Regions from separate parts of the Homo sapiens genome. Here region 2 is linked to region 1. Evidence: promoter capture Hi-C in human tissues and cell types (Jung and others, 2019). All regions are on one chromosome and are shown on one strand. The core of a region is centred on a gene start or on the middle of the fragment in contact, and the rest is flanking DNA. Distances in the headings are between cores, read along the strand shown.

Evidence for each region. The method cuts DNA at HindIII sites, captures the fragments that hold promoters and counts their contacts. A contact is called where the count stands out against the background at its distance.
Region 2: a fragment that was not itself captured here is called in contact with the fragment with the promoter of ATP9B in region 1 in 1 of the 25 tissues and cell types used here (H1 embryonic stem cells).

The regions. Positions count from the first base shown.
Region 1 is chr18:79,065,330-79,070,914 of GRCh38, reverse strand. It overlaps ATP9B (ATPase phospholipid transporting 9B (putative)), which reads right to left and starts at 1,521. Exons shown (of 30, transcript NM_198531.5): 1 at 1,386-1,521. The coding sequence starts at 1,504. The HindIII fragment of the contact is 23,298 bases long and covers 1-5,585 here.
Region 2 is chr18:78,642,266-78,648,093 of GRCh38, reverse strand. No RefSeq gene overlaps it. Among named protein-coding and RNA genes, the nearest start is that of LINC01896, 330 kb to the left of the region's middle. RefSeq lists an enhancer at 84-1,283. The HindIII fragment of the contact is 5,202 bases long and covers 1-4,967 here.

The DNA of each region.
Region 1 (5,585 bases), core at 272-2,771:
ATAAAAAATATAAGATCCAACAAGAAACTCACTTCAAATTCAACATAGGTAAGTTGAAAGCTAATACCATGCAAACATTAATCCAAAAAAAAGCATAAATGGCGACATCAATATCTAATAAAGATTTTAGAGCAAAGAAAATTACCAGAGACAGAGGAACATTAACAATGAAAGGAACAATCCACCGAGATGACAAAAAATCTTGAATGTGCGTGCACCACATGACAGTGCTTCAAAGTACATGAGGCAAAAATGGATTCAATCTGTGATGGAAACCTATTTTGAAACAGGTGGCACATTTCCAACTAAAGAACTCCTAAAATTAAACAGATTTACTAACACAATTACTGTTATAGGTAACACCAGAACCCACTTCCAACCAAGCACTGAAAAAAGGGCACCTTACACATGTTCTACTGTAATCTCCAATAATCCCGTAAGAAAAAATATTATCCAGCATTTTACAGATGAGGAAACCATGGCTTGAGTTTAAATAAGTTACCCGAGAGTAAATCGCTAGTGGGTAAACACTCAAATCAGCGTTATAACATTCCAGTATGTACTTTGAGCTATATGTTAGTCTCTCAAATGGCCGAAAACAAAAATTATTCAAAAACTCAAATTCTGAAGCAACTACATATTGAGTGAAATTATGTTTTCGACAATTCCTCTGGAATAAAACTTCAAAAACTATAAGAAGCAACACTTTTTAAAATTTTCTTTTCTTTGAATGAGAAATGTTAAATATGAGCTAAATGCAATCTCGAGTATGAAAGGTCTGTACACTAATTCTACTGCTAACCTGTGACCCCACTAAACAAGTTAACCGTTCTCAATACCCCATTTCCCTTTCGTAAAAGCAAAATTACTTGTCGACAAAAAGCACTTTGTATATATATGTTTAAACAAAAAGTGTGCCTAGCAAAGATATCGAAATGTCGAAGAGAAGTCATTTCAATAAGAAGTGTGTTTTTAACAAAGCAATTAAAAGTTACATCCGTCACCTTCACAATTCACAGGGCTACAAGAACAAGTTTCGGAGACTCTGAAGTATCCGAGAAGTTAGCACTTTTGATCCCCGTTTACTTTAGGAGAGCAGCCACCCCTCAACACTGGACCGCGGTTCTCTGCTCCCGTTCTGGCTCCTACGCTCGGCCCAGGCGTCCCGGGGATGCAGCCGCTCGCCCCGGCAGCTGCCCGCGGCCCTCACCACCGGCGGACGCCACAGCTGCGGCGCGCTCAGAACGCCAAGGACTCCCGGCTCCCAGCGAACAGATGGGGCGCGCCGGTAGCGACCCCAGACCCGCCCGGCTCCGGGTTCCTGCGGTGGGCTGGGGGCCCCGGGGAGCGTCGGCGGGGAACGGGGCCAGTGCCGCCTCGGTTACCTGCTGTGCCGGTCGGCTCCCGGCCTGGGCCCCGCGGCGCTGTAGTAGGCCGCGCGTTTGCGGTTGGCTGCGGCCGCCGCTGCGCTACGCACCGGGTAAAGCGGGATCTGGTCCGCCATGTTCCGACCGCCCCTTTCCCGCCCCTCCCACTTTCCCCTCAATTCGCCACCTTTTCCCCGCCCTCTCCCCTCAGCGCCAACCCCGGCTGAGGCGCCGCCTGCGGGCCTTCCCCGCCTCCGCCAAGCGGCGAGGTCCGATGACGTAACGAGCGGCGGCGCGGAAGGTGTGGCGTCCCTAGGCCCCGCCCTCGTTTGGCGTCGGCGCACGATGACGTGCCCAGGGTGGCAAAAGCGCGGCGCAGGAGGCAGTGGAGTCCGGGCAATGACGTCACGAGTGGCTAAAGCTGGGACGGGGGGCGTCGCGTTCCGAGGCCCCGCCCCCGCCTCGTGACGGGCCCGATGACGTCACCGATCGGCGGGGCGGGGCGCGCGTGCGCCACAGGCTGGCCTTCCGGTAGCGCGCGAGGGCCTGCACGTGGGTCGTGGTTCGACCCGGCGCGCTCTGGTCCGCGGGTGGAAGGGCCTCGCAGCCGTCTCCTGGAAGCTCTGCCGGGGACACGCGTGGGCGCGCGCGGCCTCCTTAGCGGTCCAGAGCCTGCGCTGCCAGTAGTACGCGCGCCCCATGGCTGTGTGGGGCCCCACGCGCCCTCCTCGCCGCGCGGCTTCTTGCTTCCGCCCCGCGCTTCTCCAGCCTGCCTTCGGTGCCCGCTTCCTGCCCGCGCCCTTGGAACCGCTGGTGTCTGTGCGTTCACAGGCAGGGTCGTGCTACGTGGCCCGGGCCCCCAAAGCGCCGCGACTGCAGGCGCGCCCACCGCGCCGGGCTGAATTTCCGAGATGTTCTTGTCCTGCTTCCTCACTGCTGCTTCCTTCTTTCTCTGGTTCTGGGTCTTTAGCTTGATTCCACATCCCCCACCTCTAGGCCCACAGCCTGCTGAAAAGTCCTATAGGCGACTGTCAGAAACGAGGTTTACACCCTCAGTCTACACAAGAAAGCAAAACGATATTGAATAAACGAATACACGGCTTTGGTTGGGTTTGTTTCATTTCCTGTCCCGAGGACAGCTCCCTTCCACCTCCATCACCCGCTGCAGCTGGAAGCCGGCAAGCTGATGCACCGCTCACCTCACGTATTAATGGTTTACTCACTTTGTGTTTTTTTAAACAATGTTTTTCTGATATTCCATTTTCATGACATATAAATTTTGTCTATGTGTTTGAAACACTGTTCAACATGAACTTATAAATGCTTTTCTTTTCTGTTTTTTGGAGATGGGGTCTCTGTTACCCAGGCTGGAGTGTAATGTTTTGATCACGGCTCACTACATCTTCCACCTCTCAAGGTTCAGGTGATCTTCCCCCATCTGCATGTATTACTTTTTCATTATAAAAAATGGTCTTTATGAATATGAATATTCTTAATTTGTTGCTGCCACTCTGATTGCCAGTTTGCTTCTCAGCTGCTTTTCATGTAACCTGAATACATGCCACTCCACAGACACTAACTACTTTCAAAAGACGCCAATGGCCTCCTAATTGACAATGGCCTCACCCATTATTTCTCTACCTCACTCTCAGCCGCTGACACTGTTCACACCATCTCTCACCCACATTCAACAACTGATATTGATAACACCATCTCATTCTCACAGCACTGGCACTGTAACACCATCTCCTCACCCTCACTCAGTACCTGACAGTGATAACGCCGTCTCCTCACCCTCACTCAACTACTGACAGTGACAACAGCATCTTCTCACCCTCACTCAACTACTGACAGTGACAACACCATCTGACCCTCAGTCAACACCTGACAGTGACAACATCTTCTGACCCTCACTCAGCAACTGAAAGTGACAACAACATTTCTTCACCCTCACTCAACAACTGACAATGACAACACCTTCTCCTGACCCTCAACTACTGACAGGGACAACACCGTCTTCTCACCCTCACTCAATAACTGACAGCAACAACACCATCTCCTGACCCTCACTCAACTACTGACAGTAACACCATCATCTCCTGACCCTCACTCAACATCTGACAGTGACAGACCATCTCCTCTCTCTCACTCAACACCTGACAGTGATAACACCTTCTCCTCACCCTCACTCAACTTCCAACAGTGACAACAGCATCTCCTCACTGTCAGTCAACTACTGATAGTGACAACACCATCTCCTCACCCTCACTCAACACCTGAGAGTGACAACAGCATCTCCTCAGCCTCAGTCAACAACTGACAGTGTACCCTCACTCAACAACTGACAGTGACAACACCATCTCCTGACCCTCACTCAACTACTGACAGTGACAACACCGTCTCCTGTCTCCTTACCCTCACTCAACAACTGACAGTGACACCATCTCCTCACCCTCACTCAACACCTGACAGTGACAACAGCATCTCCTTACCCTCACTCAACACCTGAAAGTGACAACAGCATCTCAGCCTCATTCAAGAACTGACAGTGACAACATCTCCTCACCCTCACTCAACACCTGACAGTGACAACAGCATCTCCTCACCCTCACTCAACACCTGACAGTGACAACAGCATCTCCTCAGCCTCATTCAAGAACTGACAGTGACAACACCATCTCCTCAGCCTCACTCAACAGCTGACAGTGACAACATCATCTATACCCTCACTCAACACCTGACAGTGACAACAATATCTCCTCACCCTCTCTCAAGAACTGACAGTGGCAACACCATCTCCTCACCCTCACTCAACTACTGACAGTGACAACACCATCTCCTCACCCTCACTCAACACCTGACAGTGACACCACCATCTCCTCACCCTCACTCAAGAACTGACAGTGACATCACCATCTCCTCAGCCTCACTCAACTACTGACAGTGACAACACCATCTCCTGACCCTCACTCAGCTACTGACAGTGACAACACCATCTCCTCACCCTCATTCAACAACTGACAGTGACACCATCTCCTCACCCTCACTCAACACCTGACAGTAACAACAGCATCTCCTCACCCTCACTCAACACCTGACAGTGACAACAGCATCTCCTCACCCTCACTCAAGAACTGACAGTGACAACACCATCTCCTCAGCCTCACTCAACTGACAGTGACAACATCATCTACACCCTCACTCAACACCTGACAGTGATACCATCTCCTCACCCTCACTCAACACCTGACTGTGACAACAGCATCTCCTCACCCTCACTCAACTACTGACAGTGACAACACCATCTCCTCACCCTCACTCAACTACTGACAGTGACAACACCATCTCCTCACCCTCACTCAACAACTGACAGTGACACCATCTCCTCACCCTTAGTCAACACCTGACAGTGACAACAGCATCTCCTCACCCTCACTCAACACCTGACAGTGACAACAGCATCCCCTCACCCTCACTCAAGAACTGACAGTGACAACACTATCTCCTCAGCCTCACTCAACAACTGACAGTGACATCATCATCTACACCCTCACTCAACACCTGACAGTGAGACCATCTCCTCACTCTCACTCACCACCTGACTATGACAACAGCATCTCCTCACCCTCAGTCAGCTACTGACAGTGACAACACCATCTCCTCACCCTCACTCAACTACTGACAGTGAAAACACCATCTCCTAACACTCAGTAATTGACAGTGACAACACCGTCTCCTCACCGTCACTCAACAACTAACAGTGATAACAGCATCTCCTCACCCTCACTAATCACTGACACTGTTCATATCCTCTCCTCACCCTCACAGTTAATAACTCACACTGATAACACCATCTCCTCACCCTCACTCAATTTAATGGACTCACGGTTCCACATGGCTGGGGAGATCTCACAATCATGGCAGAAGGCAAGAGAGAGAATGAGAACCAAGCAAAAGGGGTTTCTCCTTATAAAACCATGAGATTTCATGAGACTTATTCGCTACCATAAGGACAGTATGGGGGAAACAGCCCCCATGATTCAGTTATCTCCCACTGGGTCCCTCCCACAACACATGGGAATTATGGGAGCTACAATTCAAGATGAGATTTGGGTGGGAACACAGCCAAACCATAACATTCAACAACAGGCAGTTTTCACACCATCTCCTTGTAAATTTTTTCCTCCCTTAAGGTTCAGACTAAATCAACTAGCTCTC
Region 2 (5,828 bases), core at 1,117-3,616, 420 kb after region 1:
CTCAAATCTTGACTGTGCTGCAGCAAGTTACGTGGCTTTGGGGAACTTAGCGCACCTCTCTCTGTGTCTTGTCTCATCTCCACAGGGTTGAAGAGAGCAATGACCTCCAGGGTTGTGAGGATTAAGTGAGATCATGGAAGGGCTCAGTCCTGTTAGAGCGTGAATCTTCTATATTTGTTAATTTTTACCTTTCATTTTGATCGTGATGTATTCCTAGTGCCAAGTGCACTGGTTTCTCAGAGTCACAGTTCCCCAGGCTTCTGGCTTCTCTGCCTCTACCTGTGGGGCTCAAGCCTGGCTTATGTGCTGGGCAGGGGGAGACTCGATGCCAACTCCTCCATTATCTTATTCTTCATTCTGTTAATTCAGGGTTCCTAAAACAGGCAAACAAACAAACGAAAGATTAAGCAAACAAAAAGTTTCCTTCTCCAGTACAAAAAAGAAAGAAAGAAAGAAAGAAGAAAGAAAGAAGAAAGAAAGAAAGAAAGAAAGAAAGAAAGAAAGAAAGAAAGAAAGAAAGAAAAGAAAGAAAGAAAGAGAAAGCAAGCTGCTGTGGGTCAGGTCCCATAAGTACGAGTTCAGAGTAATCAGTGCAGGGGTCCAGGCCTCTTTGTCCTTCCCTCCGCCTCCTGCTCCTGCGGGGACCACAGATGGAGCAGGGCAGGGCTGGACCAGGAGCCTCTGCCCAGGCATGGAGGGTGCACATCTCACCCTGGGATGTGGCCTGTGCAGGACCCAGGGCTCAGAAATGGGGTCCTTGCTTGCAGAGTTGCTGAAACTGAGACAGGCATGGTGGCCACTGAAATTGGGATCTGCAGTTCAGGCCAGGGGCCTGTGGAGCACTGGGTGGTGAGTGTGTAGTTTTGGTTATGAGTCACGGAAGTCAACATCCGGCCTCTCTGTGATGGTGTAGGCATGTGGTGAACAAGAAGGGCAGCAGCCCTGATGTCTCTTCTTCTCCACAGACCCACACTGGCTGAGGGTCTGGGCACATGGCACAGACGAAGTCCTTTCACTGCCAAGAAGCCTGAGCAATGGGTTCCTGCCCCTCACGGACCTGGAGCTGGGGAAGGAAGTGGAAAGGCACTGGCTTGGACGGAGAAAAGCCCCTCAACTGAGCCCCTAAGAAGGGGTCCCCAGTGGAGGTGTGGGGGCAGGCATGCAGATGTGGAAAGAGTGTGGCCAGCAGGGGCCGGAGTCCAAAGCGCAGCTCTCCCGAGGCTGCTCCTAGACGCCAGCCGGGTGAGGCCTTTATAATTGTCCGTGGCAGGGCCTGAAGGGTCCCATGAAGGATTTGGGGCTGGATCCAACTCCCAAGGCCAGGAGGGCAAACAGGGGATGTGGGAACAGGAGGGGCTGGCGTCTGCGGCTGGTGGCTGATGGGGGTCCTGCTGGATGATGGGGGCTGTTGGGGTGGGCCTGGCTTAGAGGGAAAGGGTTTGTTGCCATGCAAAGACCATCCAGGTCCTAAACACAGGGAGCAGAGACGGCGTTAACGAGTTTACACCCTCTATGTGAAGGAAGATGTCCAGGAGAGCCCAGAGTAGAAGTAAAATGTGGGGAAACCCATGGCCACGCTGCATCTCATCTCACGCATTTCCTCAACTGCGGAGCTCTTCTCCATTCGTCTGTCCATCTATCCATCCGTCCGTCCATCCATCCATTCATATCCACAAGGCACACAGAGCCCCTGCTCTGAGCTGGTGCTGCTCTGCAAGCTGAGATGCTTTGCTGAACCCCACCTTGAGCACACACTGCACCATCTTTGTCGTTTCTAACTGTCTCCCTACACAGTTAGTTTCGTGCCATGGTCAGTGCCGTGGAAAAGTCCATGTTCTGATGTTTTCACAGGTGCAGGTGCTTTGGCCTTCAGTCACGGATTCCACCAACGGCACAAGCGCCCTTTGCTCAGATGGACAGGGACGCTGGACACGTACCCCTCAGAAGGACACAGCGCAGCCTTGATCTCACCGTGGACCTAGACCTCCTGGCCGCAGGGCCCTGCTGACCTTAGTGCCTCCTTACGGGGGATCCAGCCCACGCGCCCCAGGAGAGAAGCCAGAGGAAGGAAGCTTCTGAGGCCGAGCTCCTCCTGCGAGGTGAACATTATGCCGCTGACGTGCCGGAGAAGCCAAAAACGCATGCAATTAACTCACAGTGGATTGATATTTTCCATTTTAAATTTTGTCTTAAAAAGTTTCAGAAGTGAATGTAAAGTCTCATAATTGAAAAATATGAAAATATGGAGAACATGGTGTGTTTTATTTTTATTCATCTGTTTGCTATCATAGCAACCCTGCTTTCCCTTCATCTTCACATGTGTTTATATACATATGTAAACACACGTATGACAAAATGCCGAATTTTCACATTTCATTGGTTAATTTTCATTTCTGACCAGCAAGGGGTCAGAAGCGTGTCCTCCCTGCAGGGACTCCCCGGATTTCTCAGCACCTCTGAGCAGGCTTGGTGTGACGCTGAGGAGGAGCAGCGTCTAAAGCCTTCCAGGCAAGAGAGGAGCATATCACCGTGCTCACTGTGGGTGCCCATCAGCCACATGGCGCCCAGGCCAGCCTGGCAGGCTGAGTGTTGGGTGTGGTGTGGATGTGTGGTCTCGCCGCCTGCCCCCGAGGCGCTGAGGTCTGGGCCTGGTGTGGACGTGTGGTCTCGCCGCCCGCCCCCGAGGCGCTGAGGTCTGGGCCTGGTGTGGACGTGTGGTCTCGCCGCCTACCCCTGAGGTGCTGAGGTCTGGGCCTGTGTTCCCACCACGGGTTGTGATGAGGCCCGTGGGAAGATCTGCTCAGCCCAGGTGCTTACAAGAGTGGTCACGTGGCCTTGGTCTGAGCCCCTGAGGATGCCGGCAGGAGGGCTAGAAGCCAGGCTGTCCATCCTGGTACACAGGGGGTCCTGTGGTGTTCTGCCAGGTGAGGCTTGGGGGTGCAGGATGGAAACCCTGGGATTTGGAGGGTTGGCGGTTTAAGGGCCAGGGCTCATCAGCCACTGGAAGTAGGTTGATACCTGGAATGTGCCTGACCTTCTGGGCTGGTCTCCACATTTTTGACTCTGATGCTGTTTGCGGGCGGAGCAGTGCTGGCTGAGAAGACATGGTGAACACTGAATGAGCGCGTTCTCTGCAGCAAAGTTGAGCCTCGGGCTTGGCATCTTTTAGCAAAAGATTTATGGTCCCATCTCAAATAACTTTGTGTAGCAGAATGCTGAATTTTCACGTTTTATTGGATAATTTTCATTTTGGGCTATTGGTCCGAAACTCGTGACAGAAAGATATCACTTGACGATAGTATCATTCATCAAGTAAGAGAGACTAATTATCTTATTTTGAATGTGGATTTAAATTCATTCACCCTGCAAGTCCCTAAATATTGGATTGTCGATTTGAAAAATTGACTATGCTTTTCATTTATGTTACACAGATCATATTAGACGCAACAGATGAGCCTCCACCCACGTTCTCAGGTGCACTTCTGCACCTCCTGCCATCGGGTTCTACTTGATTCAGACCCTGAACCATTTTGTGATTGGGAAAAAGTACCCTGGAAGACTCAGTACCTGTTAGCCTGATCCTGGGTTCCGTGGGGCTTAGCACTAAGTGGACGCCCAGGATATCATTGTGGACCCAGTGGCACTCCAGGAGTGCTGGCTGCCCGCGGCTCTAAGGGTGCTGATGCGGTCTCCTGCCCTGGTGCGTGACTCCATGTGCCAAGGCCACGCGCACCTCCCTCAGGCCCCTTTCTGACTCTGCTCCACTCCACGTTCTGTCATCTGCGCACCAGGCACCTGCTGAGCACCCACAAAGACATGGCCACCCCCTCCTAGGCATTGCACACGCTGAGGAGGGCTGTGGTAGGAACGAGACTCAGCCCCCTGACCACTGAGGGTCCTGTCCTGGGGATGTCCACACTTGCCTTCCGCACTGGTTCCTGGGGAAACCCCTGCCACCCTTCCCAGCCTCCTCCACAGGGTCCTGACCTCACGGACTCGGGCGTGGCCCATGCTCTTCGTGCCGTCGTCAAGTTCACCTCTCGACAGCTCAGAGTCCTGGTTCCCAGGCCCAGGTACTGGGACCTGTGTGGATTCCAACTGTAGAGACCACCCTGTGGACGCTGCTCCATCCAGCTGAATCTCCCTGGTACTCTCTGGCCGGAATCAACATGCTGCTGGCTACTCCCTTGGATGCCCGTCTCATCTGCTCACCTGTGGCCCTCAACAGTCACCCTCTGCTCCTGGGCCACTTTCTCCAGCACCTGTGCCCTCCAAGGCAGGAAAATTGTGTGCCTGGTCCTAGCTCCTTTATTTTCCTCTCCTGGCCCATTTTGAGGAACAATAAACTCACACCTGAAGCTTAAATTACTACACAAAAGGTGGTATTGTAATATTTTTCATTGTAATTGCAAAATTAATGTGGAATTATGGATCTAATTAATTTACACTTATTTGGATGAACAGCCCAATAGACAGAAGTTTGAAAGCTGAGAGGATACAGATTATTTTGCAAGTTACATTACCAAAGAATTTTGGAAATGGAAGATTCTTACATGAAAGGATTGTTAATGTGATTTTGCTTTAAAAATATAACCTGTATTGGCAATTAATGAAATAATATGTAATTTAGAACAACTAGTTAATTTCGTAGAAACATTTTGTCAGAATTTCTGAGAAAATAATGCTTTAAATCTTTTTAACTGATCAAAACACTTTAAAATATTTGAGAAACATCCAGCTGTGTGGAGATTGCTATGAGAAATTAGGCTCACCCAATTTTTTCTTTCCTCCATTACTCATGTGTGTGTGCCCAAGTACTATTAAAAACTTAAGTAGGAAGTGAATTATGTAACTGCTATTACTGTCAAACATCACACTTGTTTCGTCAGCCCTAAGAGGCCAACTATACGTCTGTGGTTATCATCCCCGCCTTCAGGCTGGGGTGAAAAATAGAAGGTTCTTGATAGAATTTCAACTTCCTCTTACTCTAACTTCACAGGTTTTTCTAAATCCCCTTAGAATGGTGGCAAGATTTCTGCCAGACCATCCACCTTTGCAAGGTAACGTTTCTTTCAGCCATGATTCATGCAATTGATTATGTTGTTATTTAATGGAAAGAGGTGGCTCCTATAATGTGCACTGAGGAGTTGGATTCTTGATATAATAAATACACCTGCTGCTGTGTGCAAGGAGACCAGCTGGATGCTGCTATTGCTGCCTGACAGCCCCGCCGTAGCTGCTTTTCACATCCTGCTTTGCTTCGCAGGGCAATCCTGGCCCCTCTTTATCTGTCTGAATAACTCAAAGGCAGTCCCCTCCTTCCAGAGGGCCTTCCTTGCTCAATTGCTTTATGATGCTAGTTTGTTTATAACAATATCACATTTCAGTGGGGAGCCAGCTGGCTACTCTTCAAATTAAGAACAGATACAGTACCTGTCTCTGCAGAGAGCAAGGAAACTGACCATTTAGATCAGCATTATTGTCCCTTTTAATTTTTAAATGACTCCTGAGATCATACGCTGCCTGCTAAGCCTTTGTTATTGGTTAATGAGCGCTGTGCTGGTCAACGGAAAGCTTTGTTAACGTCCCACTCATAACTTATAAACAAATTCAGCTAGAAGAAAATTTTTGTTTAACACATGGATGCCAGATATTTGAAGAGTTCTTAGGGATTCCAAACTGGAAACACTTGTTGTGGCTAATGTGAATATCAAATCTGGAGTGACAATTAGCGTTGGACAACGCTCTAAAAGGGGGCTTGGCAAGTCCCCGAGACTCTCTGCCAGCGCATTTTTCATGGATGGCAGCAAATTACTCCCCTGCTCTTC